Regions from separate parts of the Homo sapiens genome. Here all the other regions are linked to region 1. Evidence: promoter capture Hi-C in 16 types of primary human blood cells and fetal thymus (Javierre and others, 2016). All regions are on one chromosome and are shown on one strand. The core of a region is centred on a gene start or on the middle of the fragment in contact, and the rest is flanking DNA. Distances in the headings are between cores, read along the strand shown. Region 1 holds the start of CLCA2 (chloride channel accessory 2). Region 2 overlaps SH3GLB1 (SH3 domain containing GRB2 like, endophilin B1). Region 3 overlaps SH3GLB1 (SH3 domain containing GRB2 like, endophilin B1). Region 4 has its middle 50 kb from the start of SH3GLB1. Region 5 overlaps CLCA4-AS1 (CLCA4 antisense RNA 1). Region 6 overlaps SELENOF (selenoprotein F).

What was found. The method cuts DNA at HindIII sites, captures the fragments that hold promoters and counts their contacts. A CHiCAGO score of 5 or more calls a contact.
Region 2: a fragment that was not itself captured here is called in contact with the fragment with the promoter of CLCA2 in region 1 in 3 of 17 cell types (fetal thymus, naive CD4 T cells and total CD4 T cells); the score reaches 5.6 in fetal thymus.
Region 3: a contact is called between a fragment that was not itself captured here and the fragment with the promoter of CLCA2 in region 1, in 9 of 17 cell types (total CD4 T cells, naive CD4 T cells, naive CD8 T cells and 6 more). The highest score is 9.0, in total CD4 T cells.
Region 4: a fragment that was not itself captured here is called in contact with the fragment with the promoter of CLCA2 in region 1 in 1 of 17 cell types (naive CD4 T cells); the score reaches 6.5 in naive CD4 T cells.
Region 5: a fragment that was not itself captured here is called in contact with the fragment with the promoter of CLCA2 in region 1 in 8 of 17 cell types (total B cells, naive B cells, erythroblasts and 5 more); the score reaches 10.7 in total B cells.
Region 6: a fragment that was not itself captured here is called in contact with the fragment with the promoter of CLCA2 in region 1 in 1 of 17 cell types (monocytes); the score reaches 5.2 in monocytes.

Annotation. Positions count from the first base shown.
Region 1 is chr1:86,422,351-86,426,250 of GRCh38, reverse strand. It overlaps CLCA2 (chloride channel accessory 2), which reads right to left and starts at 2,080. Exons shown (of 14, transcript NM_006536.7): 1 at 1,818-2,080; 2 at 775-912. The coding sequence starts at 2,003. The HindIII fragment of the contact is 7,161 bases long and covers 1,177-3,900 here.
Region 2 is chr1:86,714,953-86,719,059 of GRCh38, reverse strand. It overlaps SH3GLB1 (SH3 domain containing GRB2 like, endophilin B1), which reads right to left. Exons shown (of 9, transcript NM_016009.5): 2 at 3,195-3,336. Among named protein-coding and RNA genes, the nearest start is that of SH3GLB1, 12 kb to the right of the region's middle. The HindIII fragment of the contact is 1,407 bases long and covers 1,917-3,323 here.
Region 3 is chr1:86,734,232-86,738,685 of GRCh38, reverse strand. SH3GLB1 (SH3 domain containing GRB2 like, endophilin B1) reads right to left here. Exons shown (of 9, transcript NM_016009.5): 6 at 3,995-4,084; 7 at 3,507-3,607. Among named protein-coding and RNA genes, the nearest start is that of SH3GLB1, 32 kb to the right of the region's middle. The HindIII fragment of the contact is 6,030 bases long and covers 1-4,323 here.
Region 4 is chr1:86,752,220-86,756,066 of GRCh38, reverse strand. No RefSeq gene overlaps it. Among named protein-coding and RNA genes, the nearest start is that of SH3GLB1, 50 kb to the right of the region's middle. RefSeq lists enhancers at 27-527, 2,199-2,258. The HindIII fragment of the contact is 3,892 bases long and covers 1-3,495 here.
Region 5 is chr1:86,694,107-86,698,471 of GRCh38, reverse strand. It overlaps CLCA4-AS1 (CLCA4 antisense RNA 1), which reads left to right. Exons shown (of 5, transcript NR_135837.1): 2 at 710-773; 3 at 1,239-1,451. Among named protein-coding and RNA genes, the nearest start is that of CLCA4-AS1, 8.2 kb to the left of the region's middle. The HindIII fragment of the contact is 702 bases long and covers 2,742-3,443 here.
Region 6 is chr1:86,902,924-86,907,366 of GRCh38, reverse strand. SELENOF (selenoprotein F) reads left to right here. Exons shown (of 5, transcript NM_004261.5): 2 at 3,919-4,086. Among named protein-coding and RNA genes, the nearest start is that of SELENOF, 9.0 kb to the left of the region's middle. The HindIII fragment of the contact is 1,155 bases long and covers 1,910-3,064 here.

The sequences.
Region 1 (3,900 bases), core at 831-3,330:
GTTGCCAATGCCTCTACTTCTGGCCCTTCTGGTAGCTGCAATGGACTCTTGTTCACAGTTGACTTCAAACAGTGATTTACCATTTATATTATTTATCATTTATTTATAGTGTGCACACTAGTATGTACCAGACATCATCATGGGTGCTTAATCATGATCTGCAACTTATGAGAGCCTTTCAAGGTGAAGTTCCTCTATAGGTGGAAAAAAAAAGGTAGCCATTCCCCTACTCATCCACATCCCCACATCCTTCCTCCCTTCCTTCTAATCTCCTTATTCCCCTAAAACAATATTCTGGACTTGAGCTAATGTGAAATTCTGATAATCTACACCATGGCATAAGATGGCAGTCATATTTTTATATGCATGGTGGTTTATATTTCTGTCTGGACATGCATGTTTATTGCTCCTGACAGGATGGTAAATGGGTATAGTCATAATTGGAACTGTTCCCTTTGCAGCTCATCCTCAGTAGGATAAAACTAGTTCTTGATCCTCAACCAAACTTTTCAGAAAGTACTCCATAAGTTACAAAATAAAGAGATCTTCTGAGAAACTACTTAGGCTATGGCATTTGACTCATTTTTTACTGCACAATTTGCATTCATTTATTCTCATATATTTTGTTGATAACATTCTGCCCATTAATATTATTTGCATTGTTAATACTGATGATTTGTTTTTACTTAACTTCTCACTTTTATCGTTTGAGCACAGTATATTTTGGTGTTTTTTTTCCCCTTGAGATCATTGAATGAAATCCTGGATTCTTACCTTTTCATATGATTCTTGTTTTATTTTGCTGTTATTATTAGCTTTCCATGTGGCAGGTATTAAAATCTTTATATTTCTGAAAAATACTCTTCTCTTGGTAGCATTAAATAGGTAAAATGAAGCTTCAGTTATCATTTCCTACAGCCAGACAAAAGAAAAACTTACTTTACCACTTGTAAATCCTGTATGTTTTGGTTTTCTGGTATGCTTAAACAGTAATAAAAGACAATGAAATATTTTGAAGAGACCCATTTCTTTTAGAGAAAGCCCTAGACTTTGGGAAAACATAGGAGCAAATTTTTAAAAAAACTTTAAATGATTATATGGAAGATTTTAGGACACTAATTATATGTCTGTGCTTGCCTTCATAGTTTTCCCAATTTTGAGAAAGGCTTTTAAGCTTTTGTGGAACAAATCCTTTTCATGTCACACCTGTGGGCACATTCAAGACCACACCTTATGATGCTACTGATTTCACTAAAGCAATACTAAATGGAGGCTCTTACATCATAGAGCTATGATCCTCCCTTGCCATATTAAAGTAAAAATAGTCAATTATGTTACAGCACATTCAAGTGAAAAGAAATAATTTTGCTTTTTGGCCCACCGTGCAGACTCTCACCCTTTCTGCCTGAGAATTCTCACCCTCAGGATGGAATCTAGCAATATGATTTTAACAAGCATGCTCATTATCATGCTTATTCATCAGTTAAATATTCAATCTTTGTTGCCACAATGGGTTGTTATTTTTCTAAGTTGCTACCCCAAAAACAGTCATGTAGGAAAACAAAAGAGCTGAAATTAGTAGCAACCAACAATAACAAAATAGAGGGCTAGATCAACACTCTGTGAGCTGAGACTACACAGAATTAGATGAACAAACTGGCTTAGTTAGCCATAATCATAACGTTGTGGCGCTATCTTTTAAAAATGCTGTTCTCTGTATTACTCAAATACAAACCAGGCAGGGTAGTTAGCTTCTAAATAAGGCTACAGGTCTGATCAAATGGGATGCTAGTATCAATTTCATAATTTCCACTCACCTTAATGTTTGAGATGAGGTTCTGATTCTCAGGTACCTGAGGATTAATTGCAATGAGCAATCCATTATACCCATTGTCTTGAAGCTGTACTCCAGCTCCCAGGAATGGGAGTTCTGAACTTAAGGCAACCAGGAGAGTCACAAACTTCAGGTTGCAAATAGGACCTGCAATGCTCCTTTGGGTCATGTTGTAGAGAAGCCTCCAGTTCACTCACACTGAGCCTGCTGCATACATTGTGTCAGGTTTTCAATATGGATGCAGATGGTTTCTTCCTGAACTTGCAAGGTTTTAGAACACAAGATGAAGGAGGTGTCTTCTTTGAAAAGTCTGGGGTGGATCCATCTGGGACCTGCCTCTACAAGTCCTTTTCCTCCAGGCAATGCTACACTTGCCTGTTCTGTGGCTGAGCTGCCTCCTGAATCATGGTTGGGCAAGAAACATTCTGCCCTTCATTCATTTTATAACTTTTCAGAAAGAAGAGGGAAATAAGACCAAAGGAGCTTAAAAGCAGGAAATATGGGCTGGAAATCAGTATATCTGGACTGTTCAATCCACTTGCAGTAGAAACACAGAAGTCTATAGTGATTTTCCTCTCCTCATTTTTCATAACCTCCTCCATCAGTTGGCACAAGTACTTTCTACTGCCCTCAAGTCATTTTTCATTTGTTGCAAGATTTCCTTGCCTGTTTATTTTGAAGATTTAGAAATCCATTCTGCAGCCCAGTCCCTACAGCCCTTGGGTCAGATAGTCTGGGCAAGCTCTCAGCTGATGGCTGGAGGTCAGATATCAGATATCCCCCAGAGAGGGCCAACTGCCAGGAACTTGGGTGCCTGTGCAGCCCTTTCCCTCTGGCCTTGCTACCTTTTCTCTCTGCCTCAGGAAGAAGAATAGATTTCTCCTTCAGCTCTCTCCTAAGGGCAAGGCCCTGCTTCAGTCAACCCTCCATTTCTCCAGGACCAAAAACAGGATCTAATATATAGTAACCATCGCAAATATTTTATGACTGATTCATAATACCTGATATTTACCTCATGCTTTAAAGTTTACAAATGAACTCATTTAAATATCAATACTCTGATGCAGGTATAATTTGTACTTTTCAAATGAAAATAATGAGTCTTGGAAATTCTGATTATGAAAATTAGCCAATGAGAGAAGAAACTAACATTTTTTGAGTGATGGATTTTATTATGCCTATTTTATGGGTGACAGAACTAATGTTCAAAAAAATCTAAGTAACTTGTTCAAGGTTGGGAGTATTATCATCGTACTAGAATGAACCAACTGACTCCAAATTCCACTGTTTTTCAATATATCATGTTCTCTCTTAGTTACTAAATTATCTTAGTAACCTCGTTTCTCCCTCTTCTTTGTGTTTAAGAATGCCGCACAGTGACATCTATTGTAAAACTAAAGAAAAAGTTTTATTCACAGCGTCAGAGGTCCACAGCAAGCAAAACCTGTGACTCTTCCCTGCTGTGGCCCCGTCTCGGAACATTTCTGGGGAGGGGAGTGTAGCATTTAGGAAACGGTCTGTCCCTGCTCTCAACAGGGATTTCACCAACATTGTCTGTTTTCAACATCTTCATGGGCAGTGTGATGTCACTCTTCTTCCCAGCAAGGTTGGAGTCTTCTGAACTTGGGCTTTGATATTGCACTGCAATGTTGACAGATGTTGAGGGAATTTTTTTCCCCTTGCTGTCTTGCTTGAATCATTTTCTCATGCTTCTTCTCACCTGCTTTTCCTTCAAATTCCAGCTGTGTCCTGGAAGCCTGGCCTGAGCTCCATAACTAAGTCAAATTCCCTTCTTTCATGCTTCCATAGCATCAGATAACTCACCTTTGCAGTATGATCATGGTAACAATGTCAAATTTATATTGTATAATTGATTGTCAGCTTCCTGCTGTATGAAGGAAGGGATGGAGTCTGTTTTCATTCAGTACTTCCCCAGCACCTATCTCAGTAAACTCTCTGTTGAATGACTGAATGAATGGAGTCAGGAGAAGTAAATAAAACAAGATAGTGAAGGAGCCCCGGGTTATAGTGTAAAAATTCTTTCCCCCACCCTTGTTTTCTAGAAG
Region 2 (4,107 bases), core at 1,371-3,870, 290 kb before region 1:
TAGCATGAGCATTTGCTCTCTCTTTTTCTTGCCTAGAGTCTAAATATAGACACAGGCGCTTAAGGCATAGAACAATCCAGGCTTGGAATAGTCTACAGACAGATCAGCAATATGATGCCTTGGCTTTAGTTTATGTTTAAAGTATACAAGTATATCTCTGAGCATGCATTCACTCAAAAGATTTCATCATTAAAAATAAGTTTAAAATACGAAAGGTTAAAGCAATAATAGAACATTAGAATAAATGGAAAGGGGAAAAAAACAAAAGCTGAATAAACACTTGGTTAGCAAAATGCTTAAGACCAAAGATATTAACATTTACAATGCTGTCCAACCTAGAGGTATTTCAGGACAAGTGAAAAAATGGCTTAAGTTTCCAGAAACAACGATTAAGCATAAATTGAAGCTAAGTCAAATAGGTTCCCTCTAAGTACCTCACATAGATTCCTACGCATGCGGAAGTTTCACACAGTGCACTGAAAATTTAAAAAATGAGCTGAACCAGTAACAGAAACATTTCAGGAGTTGGTAAAAGGCTTAGTTATAATACATAAAATAGAGTATAGCAATGATACTTGCTTTTGTGGTAGATTCTAGTACAAAATCAGAAGTTTTAAAGCAGAAATTAAATACCTTTAAATAGTTAAAACCAAAAAGAGCTTTTTAAAACATAACCATTTAGAAGATACTAGTTAAATTTCAGAACTTCATTTTGGCCCGGTGTGGTGGTACATGCCTGTAATCCCAGCACTTTGGGAGGCCAAGGCAGGTAGACCACTTGATGTCAGGAGTTTGAGACCAGCCTGGCTGACATGGTGAAACCCCGTCTCTACTAAAAAAAAAAATACAAAAATTAGCTAGGTGTGGTAGCGCATGCCTGTAATCCCAACTACTCGGGAAGCTGAGGCAGGACAATCACTTGAACCCAGGAGGCAGATCTTGCAGTAAGCAGAGATTGTGCCACTGCACTCCAGCCCAGGTGAAAGAGTGAGACTCTGTCTCAAAAAAAAAAAAAAACAGCTTTGTGTTTTGACTCTGATTCTTAATTTTGACTGCTTTTCCACCTATCTGGCCAAAAGTTTAAAATGGAATCTTATGCTGACTTCGTTCAGTTAATAAAATATTTGGAATACTAATAAATGTTTAATTTCAATAGGTTATAATAAAATCTTAAATATGCAGGCAACTCTGCTACAATGTAATATGTATTTCTGCATAACGTATTTTTGAAAAACCCATTTCCAGAAGATCATACATTGAAAACAACATAGGAATTACAAGAAAAGGAGTGTTAGGTTTGGCTGCTCAAAACCTATGTAACTTAATAACCAGAGCACAGGCTGGGCATGGTGGCTCACACGTGTAATCCCAGCGCTTTGGGAGGCTGAGGCGGGCAGATTACCTGAGGTCGGGAGTTCGAGACCAGCCTGGCCAACATGGAGAAACCCTGTCTCTACTAAAAATACAAAAATTAGCCGGGTATGGTGGTGGACACCTGTAATCCCAGCTACTCTCAGCAGGCAGAGGCAGGAAAATCGCTTGAACCCAGGAGGTGGAGGTTGCAGTGAACCAAGATCACACCACTGCACTCCAGCCTGGGTGACACAGCAAGACTCTGTCTCAAACAAAACAAAACAAAACAAAACAAAAAAACCACAGCACAAACAAAAAACAAAAACAATTATTACGACTTCCTGGCACAAAACAGGGGCAGGAGGAAATTGTATTTTATTTCCCTGTTTACCAGTTGTGAATGAGCTTATTTCCCATTCAGAAAAATATGTTTAGAACAAGGGGAAAAATGTCTATTACTTTTAATAAAAGTGCCAGAGTGTAGAATTTAAATGGCCTTAAATGAATAAAAAATATTACATGGTGTCCAAAGACATTAGGACTCACTCAAAGTGCAAAAAGCTTATTTTATTTCCAACTTTTATTTTAGTTCAAGGAGTACACATGCAGATTTGCTACCTGGGTATACTGAATGATGCTGAAGTTTGGGGTACACATGAACCTGTTACCCAGGTACTGAGCACAGAACTCAACAGTTAAGTTTTTCAACCAAAAGGTGTATTTAAAAAGTCACTACTATTTAACTAAAATGATAGAGAACTGCTAATATTTATATAGTGCTTGAAGTTTAAGTTAGTATCTAAAAGTAAGCATATGTCATATCACAACTTGGTCCCAAACAAGTTGGGGAAAAAAGAAGGAAAGCATACATTGTACCTTTGTTCTTCAGTTTTGATATGCAAAGCTCACAGTGAAAAGACTGGATGTTCATACACCCGGTTCTAGTCCAATTTCCACTTCTAATTAGCTATGCTACATTTGACAAGATGCTAACTCATGAGTTTCATTCACTAAACAATTATGCACCTTAACTGCAAGATTATTGAGTTGACTTATCTGAAAATCTCATAGTTGTCTGAAGATGAAATGAAATAATTTATGTGAAAATGTAAAACTTAAACATAGGCGGGGCGCAGTGGCTTATGGCTGTCATCCCAGTACTTTGGGAGGCCGAGGCAGGTGGATCACGAGGTCAGGAGTTCGAGACTAGGCTGGACAACATGGTGAAACCCTATCTCTACTAAAGACACACACACAAAAAAAAATTAGCTGGGCGTGGTGGCACATGCCTGTAATCCCAGCTACTTGGGAGGCTGAGGCAGAAGAATTGCTTCAACCTGGGAGGTGGAGGTTGCAGTGAGCCAAGATCACACCATTGCACTCCAGCATGGGCGACAGGGCGAGACTCTGTCTCAAAAAACAAACAAACAAACAAACAAACAAACAAAAAAACACACCAAAAACTTAAACATAAAAAATGGTACCTACTTAAGCAACTATATAACTTTGTCTTAATTATCTAGGGACAATTCTTCCCTAGATGAAAAAGGAAAACATATTTATATACACAGCTGCTCATAAATTAAAATTCAAAGTCACTGCCTAAAATTGAGATTTTTTACAAGGATTCTATAAAAGACTGAAAAATATCATTTTAAAATTGGTTAGGTACATAGCTGTTTATCACTTCCTCTTCACAAAAGCACACACAAAAAAACCCACTGACCTTGAAGCTACAATAAAAAAATCCTATGTTTTCAGATGGCCATTAAAACTTTTTTTTTTAACATTTAAAAACCCACTAATAGTACTTAAGGTACACAAGAGGTAGAGTTTCTTACTTGGATTTGGCTGCAATAACACTTCAGTTTGTTTCATTATTTTTTCTGTCCATATTTTGGTACATTCAGCTTTGCTAAGGAGGTTCTCTAAGTGAGCATCCAATTCTGTCTTCTCAGCCTGGCCAAGCTTTTCTTCTGTGAACTGTTATTGATTGTAAAACAAAAATTAAATATACTGCAAATAAATTTTAGGGAACCATATCAATAAGTAAAAAGCAAATTCAAAGCTAAACAATCCTAAACATACAAATAACCATGCTCCAGCTTTGTAAGCCATTGCTTATGAATACTTTTTTTTGCTCCTATGGTAATTTATCCATACTTCTTTTGTGGATGACCCTACCTTACAGTCATCACATACCCTTAGTTCTGCTAAAATGTATGGTGTGAATTCTACAGAAAACCTAAGTATACTTCTTGGTATATAAAGCATGCAACTATTTCAACTACCTATCCTAGGTAGACTAGGATAACGGTAAAGAGTAAGAGCTTTGAGTCAGTTGAATCTGAATTCAAATCTTAACTTTGTTCCTTGCTGTGTGAGCTGAGCAATGTATTGAATATTTTTTCTTTAGTACCCTCTATTATAAAAGAGAGACAATACATATTTTATAGTGTTTGGGGGATTAAGTATGATTGTGTATGCAAATCACTTTGTTTGGTGCCTTGTAATTATTAAGTTTTGAAAGAGCTGTTAATGTTTATTGTGGTTTATGTCTTATTAGCACTTTAATCACACCTAGTTAGATAAATAGTTTCCCAGAACATACCATAAAACCTGTCATTTAAGCTGCTGAGGATATGTTCCAGCAATTTATTTATAGACTAACTTTTGGAACATATCCTATTCATACTATGAAGACATCTTTTAAAGGTCATAAAATGTGGTTAAACGTACTCAATGAATCAATTT
Region 3 (4,454 bases), core at 59-2,558, 310 kb before region 1:
GGACTGGAAGAGTGAAACTCTGTCTCTAAAACAAAACAAAACAAAACCTTGCAATAATTCTTGACCTCTTTGTGTCCAATATACATACAGTCTGTCAAGCAAATCCTTCTGGCTTTAAGTCTAAAATACACCCACAGTCACGCCTGTAATCCCAGCACTTTGGGAGGCCGAGGCGGGCAGATCACAAGGTCAGGAGATCGAGACCATCCTGGCTAACACGGTGAAACCCTGTCTCTACTAAAAATACAAAAAATTAGCTGGGTGTGGTGGTGGGTGCCTGTAGTCCCCGCTACTCGGGTGGCTGAGGCAGGAGAATGGCATAAACCCAGATGGAGGAGCTTGCAGTGAGCCGAGATTGCGCCACTGCACTCCAGCCTGGGCAACAGAGCAAGACTCTGTCTCAAAAAAACAAAACAAAACAAAACAAAACAAACAAACAAAAAACAAACAACACCCACAGGCCCACAGGACCTGACCACTTCCATCCTACCTACCACAATTACCCTGATCCAAGCCACTGCCATCTTCTGACTGAATTACTGACTACATTATTGCAATAAGTTTGAAACAGATCAGTCAGCTTCCACCCAACACCTATCCTCAACGTGGCAGCCAGAATGATTCTGTTAAAGCCTAAAATTATGTCACTCTTCAGCTCAAAATTTCCAAAGGCGCCTCATCTCTGAGTAAAGACCAAAGTCGAAGCCCTATATGTTTTGGCTCCCCGTTTCCTCTACTCGTCTCTAGCCAAGCCCTCCTTGCTGTTCCTTGACCATACCAGCTATGTCATGCCCTCAGGGTTTTTGTACTTGCTGCACCCTCTACCTGGAGCATCTTCTCTCAGATGCCTGCATGTGTGCTTTCTCACGTCTTTCTCTACTCCCATCAAAGTAGTTTCCTGCTATATTTTCCGGTACACCATTTTCACCTTCTAATATACTATATAATTTATATACATATTGCTTTTCTGCTCCCTTCTGCCCCCATATAGAATGTAGATTCCAGGAAGGCAGGAATTTTGATTATTTTATTTATATACTATATCCCCCACATCTGGAACAGTACATTTTAAAAATGAAAAGCAAATGTTTCTCTGATGGATAAAGGGTGAAATAGTTTTAAATATAGCTTTTCCTCTCTAAAATTAAGACCACCTGTCCTAGTATCCTTTCCTCAGTGAACTCGGTTCTTCAGTAGGGATTAAATACATACATTTCTGAAGATAAGAAAAAGCTCTATTTATATGAATATGTATATACACATGGCTTTTTTAGTTCTCTAACCATATTTTACTTCCAAATCTACTAGTATGATTTTAGCCTTTGATTAGCCACTGAAGTGTACCTATGTCAATTTTGCAGAGTTAAAGATTTAAAAAATGAACTGAAAGGCCATTTTTACCTTCTAAGAACTTTTATTGATACGTTAAAAAATCATAGCAATTACTCATTCTATAAAAATGTCAATTAAGCCACTGGAGCTTGAAATGCAAAAGCCTTCCAATTATTAAAAAAATTGCTAATCTTGTGACTAGTACTTCTGCTTTCTCATCTTTAAAATATGGATAATAATAGTACCTACCTCATTTGGTGGTGAGGATTATAAAGTTAATAATACACATGAGGTGTCTGGAAGAGCACCTATGCACAACTTAAGCTCAACCAAAGTGATGGCTGTTATTCAGTTACTTCTACTACCTGTTGGTACTGTTATTGCAACTATTAACAATACAATCTGGTTCTCTTCTTCATAAATAGTTTTTGAATGTGTTAGTGTGAAGCTGGATGATTTGTCAAGTTCTATATTTGAATATTTCTATGTATTATCTTAAAAAGCATAACCTGCAACAAATTAAAGAGATAAAACTTCCTCCAATGTCATTGGTCATTAGCAATAATATAATTGAGGGTGGAGAGACAAGCTAGACTTTCTTTTCTAGAATAGTAGCACTGGTTTTACTTTGTATTGCTGGAGCTTATCTCAAAGAGCAGTAATAACGCAACAACTGGATTTTGTTTAAATGGCCAAGTCCTAAGCATAGTGTGGCTTTAAGTAGAATGCGAGTATAAGCAACCCCTATGCCGCACTTCCAGAGTTTCAGGATAAAGTGGAAAAAAGTACTAAGGCTTCTTGGGCTTAAAATAGTTATAATGATGTGAAGATAAAGTGCTGTTCTGCCTTGAGATATTAACACCACTAATAAAACCTCAAATATATAGTTATGTAAATGCTCCTGTATATTCTATTAAAATAACTAATGATTAGGCTACCATTCATTTTTGAGGTTCAAAATTGGTTTCATGGACGTGCTCAATTTTATTCTAGGCCAAGTTTTGAAGTGTTAATGTGCAGAAACAAACACCAAAGTGACTTTATTTACCTTATTCCTTGAAACGATTTTTTGATATTCATCCTTCAAATGCTACATATCGCTCCCCTGCTTTAATGGTTCCTCAATATATAAATTCCAAACTCCTTACAACAACTTACTTTAAAAGCCATTCATGGTATGACCCTGCTTAACTCCTCTAGATTCATCTACCATTCCATTCTTGAACACTATGCTCCAGCCTGAATGGACTACTATCAGTTCCCCGAACTTTCCCTACTCTCTTTCTTCTGGCTTTTTTATAAACATATTCTTCCTTGCTTAGAATATTCATCCCTGTCCCTTTCTTCATCTAGATTATTCCTACCAAGATAACTTCACCTGGGAAACTCTGCTAGATGTACCTCAGTCACAGTTAGATGCCTTCACAATACCAGGCACCTTCTGCTTTTCTGCCTACCACATGGCCTGTCTACCAACGGCTTGCTTTGTATTTCTACCTAGGCTAAGTGTTGTGAGAGCAGAGACCATGTTTGCCCTAAACATTATTTTATTTTCAGTGTCACCTTATAATGTGAGCTCCATAAAGGCAAGCATCTTTGCCTGTTTTGTTTGCTGATATTACCCCACAATATGTAACAGTGCTTGGCACATGGCAGATAGTCAATAAATACGTGATGAATGAGTGATTGAGCTTTGTGTTTTACATACTGTCATTTTGCTTTGAAGTATATTAACATACTCAAAATAATCACATCGGTAGATATGAGGTCTTACGAAATATTCTAAAACTTTTTTTCAATATAGTAAACAGATGAGTAATGAATAAGTATAAATTAGTTTATCTTTAAGGGTAACTGTCAATTTAATTATATCTTCCTCAACCAATAGCAAAAAGTATTCAGTAGCAGGAGAAAAGTGAACTTGAAACACTTTTAACCTTACAGCACTGAAAAGGTATTCACTTTTTCTCATCCCTGTTAACATGCCTCTGTGCCAGAAAAGCTCAAAATATTCTGTTACCTCAGAAAACTGATAATTACTTTCCTTAAAAAAAAGAAACTATTTCTAAGAAAGCTAGTAAGAACCTTTAATTGCTCTAATCTTCATCCTTAGTATTAGTTCATAAGCAAAAATCTGAATTTCTCCTCTTTACATGTGAAAAGTAAATTATCACCTTCCCAGTTGTTTCTGGAGGTCCAACATATACTGGTAACACTGTGCATAGTAAGTCATCTGGGCTTCTACAAAGTCATTCAGACAGCGAAGGTGATGGGCCTGTGAAGGAAAATTATAGTTAGTTCTTAGCTGTATAGTCAACTTAAATGGCAAATGCAAGGGGGAGACAGACCACAATATTGTACTGAGGTAGACTCACCAGTATCTAACATTTTACTACAAGGCTTATTAAGATTGGCCTTCGTGAATAGTACACTAGCAAACTCTGCTTAGCCAATAAACAACAACATGTATATTTAATGAGGGTGGGAGAACTCGGTGATAAGATGTAAACAACAATTTAAAATATTTATTCGGATATATTGGAAAGTAGAACAATTTAAATTTCCTTGATGAATGACTGAAAAGTTCAGTTTTTCCTCCCAAAATTGCCTTAGGACTACCAAAGTCTTGTTCCAAATGAATTTCCAATGAATGAATACTCACATGTGTACTGCTGATTCCCTCTAGCAGAAGTCTGGTAATCTCTGCTTGACGATCAAATTCACTTTGAGTTATTCTTAATTCCTGTTCAGACTTAAGTAAGAATATAGTTTTAGAATCTCTTTAGAAGACTCAGTCCATCTTATATACATTTATTTTAGATGGTTAAAAAAAATCCCCCGAACAAACCTCAAGTTATAATCTGGCAATTCCGCAATTCTGCTTTGTATCTAAAATGGTCCCCTGGTTTCTAGACCTTAGCTTTTCTGTATTACTCCACCTGGACAACTGATTCCAGTACTTGATTGAAAAGAATCTGTTACGCTAAAGCTTAATGATACACTCTTAAGAGCCTACAAAAACTACTAAGAGAAAGCCAAGATATTTTCATAAATTTTCTAGTATCAATTTTGCTAAATTTTACTATTTTACAAAATTTTAAGATGACCAGTTTTACAAGTAT
Region 4 (3,847 bases), core at 300-2,799, 330 kb before region 1:
GAGCCCTGGGTCAAAGCCCAGGCTCTACCACTCTACCAGGCTATGTGATTTAAGAGCCTTCACTTCCCCTTTTGTAAAACGCAGATAAGAGTCATACCTACCTCTCAGGTTGTTAAAATGAGATAATGAATGTAAATCACTTTAAGCACAGCGCCTTGTATGCAGCAAGTACTTAAGTTACTGCAGCTATTATTCTTTCACTTTTTGCCTCAAGTTGCAAGGTCTCTGTTGATAGGACTTTTGGGAGAGAGGAACTGGGGAACGGACTGGGGAAGACAGGCAAAGGAATCCCTGCTCAGCCACCCTGCCCATTACTGTAGTTCCTGTGATCAGTGATGTGAAGTTACCGCAAATATAGTGAATGACCGCAAATAGAAGGTGATCTTTCAACTGCAGCCAGGTGGTTTTGTTTTTGTTTTTGTTTTTTTTTTTTGTTTTTCCGAGACGGAGTCTCACTCTGTCGCCTAGGCTGGAGTGCAGTGGCGCGGTCTTGGCTCACTGCCAGCTCCGCCTCCCGGGTTCATGCCATTCTCCTGCCTCAGCCTCCCCCGTAGCTGGGACTACAGGTGCCCGCCACCACGCCCGGCTAATTTTTTGTATTTTTAGTAGGGACAGGGTTTCACCGTGTTAGCCAGGATTGTTTCGATCTCCTGACCTCGTGATCCGCCCACCTCGGCCCCCCAAAGTGCTGAGATTACAGGCGTGCGCCACCGCGCCTGGCCCAGGTGGTTTTTAATACAGACACATGGCTGATAAGAGCTTAACAAGTTTCTGGATCTATTACCAAACTCAGGTCATTGTTTTTGCATTTTGCATTGGAATGTATGGATATATGTTCTCCAAACTAGGGAAATATAGATATGACCAGTGGTCTCTCCAATTCTGAAGCAGTGAACAGACAGCTGTGCTGTGTGTTCAGCAAACTCTGTAGTATAGCATTGTCACAGTAGTAAAGAAGTCACTATTCCAGCAAAATAATCCAAACCCACAAAGTTAATCCAACCCATTTAATAATATGCATCCTAGTTGTTGTGCTGTATGGCAGTGAAACAGAAATGATAAACTATTTACAAATATGACTATATTTTCCTTAGTTCCTCCATTGAGCAGTCATATTTTCAGCCATTCTCTTTGCTAGTTGTTCAGTGTGTTCATGGTCAGTATCACTGTTGACACATTTCCCCCATCCAAGCCACGCCTTCTGCTACCTACTGCCCTTCTTCCTTTTCCCTCCAGGGGCATTCTTTTCCTCCCCCAGGACCCATAGATCCTTTAGTCTCAGCAGCCCACCTAGCTCAGCTATCCGGGTGTTGGGGACCTCAAGTTTGCAGAAAATGGTGTTAAAATTAGCTAGAGTGGGCTCATGCTGGGAGTCAAAGGAAAAGTGGGAATGGGCCATGAAGGAAGGTCTAGAGCACTGGCTTCCTGTGCCTGGCAGTCTTGGGGTAAAGGAATGTTGCATTAGCATCGAGAGAAAGAAGAAAAGGGAGATGTTACTCAGGAAATCTATTTTCTCTAGAGATTCAGGAGTCTTGAAATGAGCTTAGCAGATTTACACTTAATGTCTCTATCTAAACTTTGGTTTTCTCATCTGCAGAGGAAGGACAATCTCTACCTCGCAGCATTGTTGCAGGAATGAAATTAGAGAATGTGTAAAGCACCCCACACAGTGACTGGCATGTGGTAAATGCCAATGATTGGCATCTATTTTTAAAATAATGTGCTCTTGTCCTGCTGAATAGGGCATATAAACCCCTCAGTGGAAACTGAGACACTGGCTAGAAAGAAACAATAAAATTATATTGCTGTCTTACCTTGATAAAAGACAGATACATAGAACGTATTCCCTTACAGCTGAATTTCAAAATAAACTTCCAATCCATGGACTCTTTTCCCTGTTCCTGGAAAAATTATATCCTGAGCATGTTCACGTGCTTACCAAATTACTCATTAATGAGTGGTCTATTTATTGGATAGAGTCAGTAAAATGATATTACATTTTAGTTTCATTTGATAGCTTGGAGGTATTTTGGGGGGGCTGTCATTATCATCTTTCATTGTTTCTGCAGGTGAGTCAGCTTTGAGGTGAGAGACAGGTGGTTTCTCTGCTATATGTAAACAAGTGGCTCTCAAACATGTGCATCAGAATCATCTGGAGAGCTTATTGAACCACAAGATGGCAGAGTCCCACCCCTGACAGATTCCAGGACCTGCACTTTGAGAAGCCCTGACTTAAACCAACACTGATTTCTCTGCACTTTCAGCTGTGGCAGTGATGGCACTGGCAGCTCCCTGCTTGGCTTGATGACCTTTGTAGGTTTCTTTAGTTGGTTAAGCAGCAGTTTATAGCTGCTTTATGTTAAGAGCAATACTTTTTCTGCCCCAAGAAAAGTACTAACCTGGGAAGAGTGCAGGAAATAATGGACCATTGACCATATGTAGGGGGCACATTCCAAAAATAGGTGTCTGTGTTCCACACTGATTAAGAGCTTGGGCTTTGGAGTTGGGAAGGCAAGCAATGAGACTTCTTTGCCATTTTTCTAGTTGTGTGGCTTTCTAAATTCTGTTTTCTCGTCTGTAGAATGGGGGAAAGTATACTTTCTTGCCAGGTTTAAAGAAGGTAAAGCACATAAAGTGCTCAATAAGTGTTAGCAACTTTTTCAAGGGGATGTAAAAGCCCAATGATGCCTAAGACTGTGAGTGCCACTGTTCATATATACTCATTAGAATTCACTAGAATGTCTGAGCACAGAGTTGGTCCTTTTGAGGTCTAAGTCAGTCCAGGTAGAGAGGGATTTCTAAAGAATTTCTCACAAGGTGTTATTCAGCCTTTTGTAGAAAGCTCAGACTGAAGAGCTTTATACTCTAAAATATAAAGAAAACAACCCCATCAACGAGCTGCCAGTAGAAATGTGTATGCTGTTCAAGTTAATTCATAATTGTGGGTTTAACATTAGTTATTATTAAAACATGAACAACTTTGGCTTGTTTAGAACATGTTAGGAAGCAAGAGCTAGATGGACCTTAGAGATCATCTGGTTTAATCCTTTTATTTTACAGATAAAAAAATCTGTGGGGCTGAGAAATTAAGTGAACAATTTGCTTGAAGGTACGCAACCACAAATTTAATTTCTACTGGACTTGCTAGGTAAATGCTCTCAGAAAGAATGGCTTGTGGACGATTATAAAACCACTATCATTTCAGTCTTCTGTAACATGTAATTGATTTACATTCAAACAGCCTGGGTAGAAGGTAAATTCATTTAGTTTCCTAGGGTTATTATAACACAAATTTATCTTGAGGCATTCATCAGGAAGTTACATGAAATAAAGCTGGTCATTTTATGAGTATATGATAGAAATTGTTTTATAATCACACCATGCAATTGGAAGCATATGCTTTGAAAAACTTCAGGTGAATATGATCATGGTGATATTCTATGATGTGGCAGTTGCTGTGGCAATAATGGGGCTGGAAGCTCCATTATTGAAGCTTCAATTGTCCCATTTTTCCATGTGTAGAAGCAGACCTTGACTGTTTTCTGAGAAAAATCTTGACCCTTTCTCCAAGTACTGTTTTTTCTTTCAGAAATGGAGTGACTTTCTATATAGATTTCAGTCAATTTTTAGTGAAAAGAATTTAAACTCATTTTCTACATGATTGGTTAAAATATAAGGATTTGTACTCCATATTCTTGAGATCTTAACCTCCAGCCTTCAGCTGCCAAATGTCTATGAAAAGCTTTGTTATGAGAAATATATACGAAACTTTGCCTGAAAAGTGTGTAGTTCATTCATTACTTTAAAAATTGTAATAGTGACAAAATAGTAGTTAGAAATTGTTAAG
Region 5 (4,365 bases), core at 1,843-4,342, 270 kb before region 1:
GAGGAAAAGAAGTCATTATACGAAAAAGATACTTGCACATGCATGTTTATAGCAGAACAATTCACAATTTCAAAAATATGTAACCAGCTCAAATGCCAATCAATCAACAAGTGGATAAAGAGAATGTTGTATATATTTTCTGGAATACTACTCAGCCATAAAAAGGAATGAAATAATGGCATTCATAGCAACCTGGATGGAATTAGAGACCATTATTCTGAGTGAAGTAACTCAGGAATGGAAAACCAAGCATCGTATGTTCTCACTCATAAGTGGGAGCTAATCTATGAGGACATAAAGGCTTAAAAATGTTTCAATGGACTTTGGGGACTTGGAGGAAAGGGTTGGTGTGGGGGTGGGGCATAAAAGACTACACATTGGGTACAGTGTACATTGCTCGGGTAACGGGTGCACCAAAATCTCAGAAATCACCATTATGGAACTTATTCGTGTAACCAAACCCCACCTGTTACCCAAAAACCTATTGAAACAAAAAAATTATAGATAAAAAACAAATATAACAGCATTTAAGATGTATGTAGAATCATTGAAATTGTACAATTTGTATTTCACAGTACACGCATGCATATGTATTTTGTTCTTACTAAAACAGTGGAAATGCGGCATGAAACTAAATCAATTTTTAAAAATTTTATTTCTTGATATGTGCATATTCCACCAATACTCTACTTTTGGCCTGCTGATGAAGAGTAAGGAAGGACTGAAAGGAGGAGAAACTATGGGTTGCCTTTTCCTTCTGTCATCTGTTCAGCGTAAGTGGTTGGCAGCTTTAAAAAACCATTTACTTTGTACTCTCATTGGTCTTCTGGAATTCACTACTCATAGATGTATTGAAAACACTATATATGAATGGGGCCTCAAGGAACAGCAGCAGACATGTGTCTGTAAGTGCTGATGTATAAAGATTTCCAAGATACCATATTAATAAAAAAAGTGTATGGAACAGTGTATGGGTAATTGAGTGTAAATAAAAAGGAATATGTGTTATATATATATGTAAGTACTTTGTATATGCATAACTTGTAAAATAAAAATAATTTTAAGAAACTACATATAGCAGTTACCTTTGGGGAGAAGGTATGGGGTAAGGAGCGGGAAGGGTAGGAAGCTTTCACATTTTATTTTGTATCTTTCTGTACTTCTTGGATTTACAACATGTGTATGTATATGTAGATATACACACATGTATAACATTTCTTTCATGTTTTTATTTTTAGATTTCATAGTAAAACCTTTGTTGATTTAATAAACATAATGGATACTCATTAAAATATTCAAACAGCATAGAAAGGGACAAAGAAGAAAGCAGCCAGCAATCCAAGTACCACTATCCAGAAATAGCCAGTGATATCTCTTTATGTGTGGAAATACAATGAAAATTGAGTGAGAGACATACACAGAGGAAGAAGAAAAAGAGTAAGTTATAAAAGGTATTAAATTAAATTAATTTAAATTTAGCAGAAATAAAAAACAAGTAAAAAATGAATAAACCTCATGTTATTTCTTTCCCACAGAGGTATTAGATCCTACAAGACCCCTCTTGGAGTCATTTTATGTGAGGTTTTCTTCTTCCTTCTTCTTTTTTCTAAATCACCTGTTTTAATCTTAGACATCATCTATTAACTTACCATGTTAAAGATGAGGTAATTAGAACTTATTTTTTTCTTTCGTCTTGCATTTGTCTCTCTACCAACTTACATTGCTTTTATTATTTTTACTTTGAGTTAAGCAGTGAGTCACCAGTAATGTCCAGTGTTATTGGAGTATGTAGGAAAACAAGCATTCTCAAACACAATATGAGGAAGTGCACATTGATAAAGATATTTTGAAGGGTAATTTGGCATATTAAGTAAAATTTAAATTTGACCCAGCAATTCTACTTATAGCAATCTATCCAAAGCATATTTGTACAAAGATAAGTATACAAGCTTTTGTGCAACACTGTTTTTAATACCAAAGAGTTGGAAATGTTAATCAGTAAGAAAATGGTTTTATGAAGTATGGTGCATTCGCAATGTGAAATACTATAGAAAAGTTAAAAGAATTATGGAGACAAATATGTACTGAAATGGAAAAAATTCTAAATTATATTGTTAAGAGAAAAAAGAAAGTCATACAATATACCTACAGTGTGATTCCATTTTATTATGAAATAATATAAATATATATCCACACATTCACACTGATACAGAATTATACATACAGAGAAAGATTGGGGAGAGGAAAAGGACTGGGAAGGTAAAGAGGAAAGTTCATATTTAATCCCATATACTGAAAATCTGCCTTTGTGTTTTACAACAGGAATGTATACGTTGTATAAAAGGCAGAGAAAAGGAGAAAAAACAGTCTCTTCTCCAATATGTGTAAGGAATCTAATTTTAGGTAGTATTTCTGGTTTAATGATTGATATAATGGGCAAATCTGCTTTCTATTTCGGATGAGAAACAAAGCAAAACAAAACACCCTAGCTTTTGACATAATCTGCATGCCTTGCCATAGATGTTAGCCAACAAACCAAAACTTCTCCTCACCTCAAAATGACATAATTTCTTTCCTATTACACTTAAGATCCTGGAATCATGTAGTTCACTGCATTCTTCAATCTTGAATAAAAGTGCTAGACTACTGGCAATGCTATTCTCTTTCAAAGAGCTTCTTTCCCATTATGCCCATGTTTTTACTTTGAGGACTGAATGCTCATTCCACTTTAAAATAAAGCTTAACTATAATTTTATTTTATACTTTAGTTACTGATATTACCTTGTGACTTGAGATGAAGACTAAAAGGAAAAGTAAAATAACAGTTTGGCTCACATTGTTGGAATTTAAGTTAATATGACTCATACTAGCAATTAGCTTCTTGTCCTGAAAGGTAAATATCAGTGTATTTACTGACGCTTTGAGGTATGGGAGTAAGGAGACAACGCCACCAAATTATGTGGTATAAGTTTAAGCTCTTAAGTTACCAAGGAAAAACTTAAAAGGATCCACTTGCCAGTTACTTACCAATATGATCATCTAACAAACACCTATTATGAGCAACCCCTATGCTAAGTTCCATGAAGGACAGCAATATAAGATATAATCTTTTTTTTGTTAAACGATGTGCATACGTGAGATAATATGGAAAGTTGAATCTAAGAAAGCCTGGCTTGGGAGGTATTCAAGTGGTCGTGGTAGAGTTAAAGATACCCAGAAGTCTTCTAAGAAGCACAAAACATGATTCCTGTACTCAGAGACATGCAGTCCTATTCACATGCAAAGAGGACCTACACTGGCTATTGCCAAGTATCAAGCGAGGTGAGTGCTATCATAAGTCACAGAATGGATACATTATTTGAGTAGTCAGATAAATCTCACAGCATGAGGCATAAGATGTCTAATAATGTCTAGAAAGCAATTGGAAATATGTGATTAAAGCTTGGGAATGAACACTGGGTTAAAGATAGACACTTTGGAGTCATTTGCATGGCTGTGATAAATAAGATTTGAAATAGAAGATAAACAGAATGAAAAGTAAAGGAAGATTAAAATCTGAAGAAAACAGCAAGACACTGTAAAAATAAAGACAGTTATAGAACTGACATGTTCACAAATATTAAGCAAAACAAGAGTTAACTAAGTGGACTGCATTCAAAAAGTTTAAGTAATCTTTTTAACTTTTGCTTGGAATATTGCTGATCCTTGTTTTGTTTTTCAGAGTCAAGGAAACTTATTTTAAACTATTAATGGCCATTAATAATTGAGTAAGGTATACTACTGTAAACAAAATTTGGAGCATGTTCATTTATCTCCACCTGGTTCCTCTAAAATTTGGAGACTACCTGTAAGTACTCTTAACTTATGGCAGTATAGTTGTTTGCATCAGTGCAATAAGAATGCATTTTTCTTTGTCAACAGGACACAATTGGATAAACTGGTTATTTTACCAAGGCTTTGGCTGAAATGGTGTGTTTCCCTTTAAGGAATCAAGCTTGACATGCAGAGCCAATAAAAGCCCCTTGGAGAACTGGCCTCATACCTTGTCTATACAGTCCCCGCACAGGGTTCCTAACCTGTAGTCAATAAAGAATGTCACTTTCTAACAGGTCTGGAAGCTCGGAGTTTCTCTTGGGACCTCAAGAAGTGAGGATCACCCAACTCACAGGTATTTGAGGATACAGACCCATTGCTGGGCTCGGCTTTAAAGGTCTTATCTAAGATTCCTTGTGGAACAGAGTTTCATCAAAGCCAATCCAAGAGACCTATGTAGAAATAACTATTCTTACTGCACTTCATGCAAATAATCAAGCCAAGTATAAGACTAAAGTTCATTCATGATTAGTTTTGACCAAAAATGAGAAC
Region 6 (4,443 bases), core at 1,238-3,737, 480 kb before region 1:
GTATCTCCCCTATACTTATCTTTTATCCCATGTCTAGTATAGTGATAAAAACATTTATATAGTGTTTTGTAATTTTTAAGTGTGCTTTCACAGTGGAAGGTGAGCCTAATACCAACATGTATTCAGTACCTACTGTGTACTGGGCGGGATGCTAGATGCTTTCTGTGCACTTGCTTCTTTAATCCTCAGAATTCCACGAGATAAATGATAATACTCCCTGTTTAGAAATAAGGTAGCTCTGTGATGGCATTTGAATCTAGATGTGTGTTAAGACTTTGAAATACATGATGTTTTGCATAGTCATGCTACCTGTCAGTAGGTGCTCCATAAATGCCAGAATAAAACCAAATAGTATAATTGCATGATTATTCATTTGAGGTTCTTATTTTGTTGTTTAAAAGGTTTTGGTAACAGTTTTATACGTTTGTTAACGAGTTCACAGTTTCCAAAGTGATTTCACTCTTATTGCCTCTTTCAGTAACTATGGCTGCAAAACAGAATTACCCTAAAATTTAGTGACGTAAAACAATTGATTATTTTGCTTTCAAATCTTGTGAGTTAGCAATTCTGACAGGGCACAGCAGGGATGGCTTGTCTGTTCTATGATGTCTCAGACCTCAGTTGAAACACTAGGGCCTGAAATCTGAAGGTGGTTTACTCACATGTCTAGTAGCTGATACTGGTTGTCAGCTGGAGTTTTCAGTTGCTCTCTACATGGGCCCTTCCATGTTGTCTCTCTTGTATAGACTTCTTTACAGCAGGTTGGCTAAGTTCCAAAGTTGATGTTCCTAGAAAGAAAGAATACTAGCCAGGCAGAGGCTGTTTGCTCTTTTACGACCTACCCTCAGAATCACATAACTTCCTTTAAACTCTGTTGTTCAGAACAGTCATGGCCCGTGCCCAGATTCAAGGGGAGGGAACATAGACCCCACTTCTCAGTGGAGGACTAACATTGTAAGAACATGTGAAATGATATGTACACATTGATGCAGCCTTTGATACATATTGATTGTCTTGTCTTTGGAAAACACAATCTGCTCATTGTTACATTTGATTTTCAAATTATCCTGTGAAATAAATGAGGCAGATCACTTTACTGATGGAGAAATTACCCAAAGTACTAGTATGGTAGCAAGTGTCTTATAGTTAAACTAGAGAGATCAAACACACAAATTAACCAATAAAGTCACAGTTCCCTCCCACTAGGCTGGGATGTCTCATCTGTTTTGAAAAATTATACATATGACATTATTACAGAGATAAGATTAAAGATGTATAAAATATCACGTCAGCATTTTGGGTGAATATGCCAACAAGTACTTAAATTTTCTTTTCATTGGGAAATGCCACTGGATATTAATCTACCTGGTGAGTTTAGAAAAGGATTGACACACTGCAGCTGGTGGGCCAAATTCAGTCAACCCAGTTTTTGTAGAACAAATTAACATAACAAAATGAAGCAAAGTTTCATTGGAACACAGACACATTCATTCATTCATGTGTTATCTGTGACTAGTTTTTGCACTGCCATGGCTGAGTTAGATAGTTGTACAGAAACCATATGGCCACAAAAGCCTAACAAAATTATCTGGCCCTTCACATAAAGTTTGCATACCCTTAGTCTAGAAGATCAGTCAGTTGCAGTCAATCTGAAATTTCCCCTACCTGACGCTATGGCTTTGTGCGATTTATTTATCCAACAGATATATGAAAACTGTCACAAGTGAGGGAAAGACAGAGAAACAACTTAATGCTTGCCTTCAGAAGAGTTCATAGTATTGTTGAGGAGTCAGATTTACATAGTACAGTGTCACGAACGGTACTGTTTTACAACTGTGCACAAGTTTCTCGGAGAAGAAAAGTACTCTGGCTAATGATTGAGATCTGATTTTTTTGGTCAGTGAAAGCTTCCTAAAAGACTAATACTGATTAGATTCTTGAAAATAAGTAAGATGTTACAAGGTGAAGAAGTGGAAACAGAACCTTAAATATAGGGGAGACTGTGAGCAAAAGTGTGTTTGAGTAGGGCTTTTATACTTCAAGATACTATAGGAATTCCTTATAGCAGGAGGAATTGAGGAAGTAATGAGAAGTAGCCTTGGCAGTGAGCATTTAAGCCACTGAGGCAGGAAAAGACTTGAGAGCTTTTTAAGAGAATTATAAAAATATATTAATTGGTTGTGAGAATGGTGAAGAATATGGAGTGTAGGTCAGTAGGATGACTGATCTGGGCAACTAGCTTGTCAGAGAAATGATGCCATTTTACTAAGATACTGAATACCTTAGGAAGAATAGATTTAAGAAAAATATAAGTTTCAGTGTTGCAGATTTTGAACTTGCAATGCATATTCAACACCTAAATGTGATATTGAGTGGACTGTTGGCTTTGGAAGCCTGACATTCAAGAAAAATACTTGAGAGTTTTCAATAAATGCATATCTGAAGCCATGGATAAATATGCAGTAATAAATAGAAGGCATGTAAAGCTAAGAGAGAGCCAAAAACAGAACTGTGGGAAACAATAGCATTTAAGAGATGCATAGAAGAGAAAAGTAAAGGAGGACAGGCCTTTGGACGGGGTAGTTGAAGCAGAACAGTTTTGAATGCCTTTGCATTTGGTAATTTTGGGCAAATTTTGTGGAGTAGTAGGAGCAGAAACCAGGCTATATTAATGAGTTTGGGGTGTTAGGAAAAAATAAAGATAATAGAAACCAAGTTATAGTAACAATTCAGAAATGACAGAACGTGGGAAGAGCAGTTAGGACCATAGGGCTTAAATATAGCTAAAGGTTGAAGTATTGATGAAATGAAGTATCTGTTAAGATAGAATCCAAAGAGGAAGTAGAGGGATTGGCCTTAGACAAATGGAGGTATACCACATTCACTGATAGGTAAAAAAGAATGGATGAGGGAAGGGAATATTGTTGAAAGCCTGCTTTTGTCAGCCATTCTGATTGATTAAATCATCTCTGATTTAATGTAACGATTTATGTAAGGTAACCATAGCAATCTGTTTTATGTAGGAAGTATTGCCCCTTAATTTATGAGTGAGGAAATTAAAGCTTAGGGAGGATAGTTTGCCCAGGGTCACGAATCTTGTAACTGGTGGCACTATTACCTAAAACCAAAAGTTTGAATTCTGGCGTGCTCTTGCCTGCACCATCCCCTTTCCCGTCCTTCTTCTGCTGGATGTGACTGTAGATAAACCCTACAGCTAATCTTACTCCATAGACCCATATGAACAGATGTTGAGTTCTTAAAATGAAACAAAAATTATTTTTTCTTATAAGAAAATTCCTTTTTAAAACAATAAATCTTTAAGAAAATATTTATGTGATAAACATCATGAACAATGATATGCCTTTTCTTCTTAATCCATATTTTAGCTAAGCTGAAAGATGATGGATGTTTAAGAAAAAAAGCTTGTAGGGGAGGTGGGAGAAACCAGACTATTACATAAGGTTACAGAGTTTAAGAAAGAATTTATTGCTGGGCGAGGTGGCTCATGCCTGTAATCCCAACACTTTGGGAAGCCAAGGTGGGCGGATCACGAGGTCAGGAGATCAAGACCATCGTGGCCCCCGTCTCTATTAAAAATACAAAAATTAGCTGGGCGTGGTGGCATGCGCCTGTAATCCCAGCTACTAGGGAGGCTGAGGCAGGAGAATCACTTGAACCCAGGTGGCAGAGGTTGCAGTGAGCCGAGGTTGCACCACTGCCCTCCAGCCTGGCGACAGCAAGACTCCGTCTCAAAAAAAAATAAAATTAAATTAAAATTTAAAAGAATTTATCTCCAAATGAAACATTTCAGTAACTTGTCTTCAATGTGTTAGTTTTTGACAACCCCGTGTTCTCTTTTTGGAAAGCTTTGTAGTATAAATATGGAATTGTGTTTTATTTCCCATTTTTTATTTTCAGGTGTCTGCTTTTGGGGCAGAGTTTTCATCGGAGGCATGCAGAGAGTTAGGCTTTTCTAGCAACTTGCTTTGCAGCTCTTGTGATCTTCTCGGACAGTTCAACCTGCTTCAGCTGGATCCTGATTGCAGAGGATGCTGTCAGGAGGAAGCACAATTTGAAACCAAAAAGGTACTGTTTTCTAGTATATTCCTTCCATTGGATGGTTTAGTTGAGATAAGGTAAAAATGTAAGTTGCTTAATCAATTTAAGTGTAAAAAAGCCTCTAAGCTTTTACATTTTTTAGTAAAACTCAACTGATTTCTTGTCTGGCCTATTAGTTCAATCAAAGCAAATATGAAGGAGAAGTATGGTTGCATACCAGGATCCCATTCCACCATGATTGTCAAGCAAAGGGGAAGTAGAATCCCTATAACATGCTTTGATCCTGTAGTTCTCCAGTCTTCCTAACTTCTGGCCAAATGAAGCCAAAAAATAATAGGTGCTTTTGTTCATTTATAGTAAGAACCCAGTGTTGGATGAAACTTG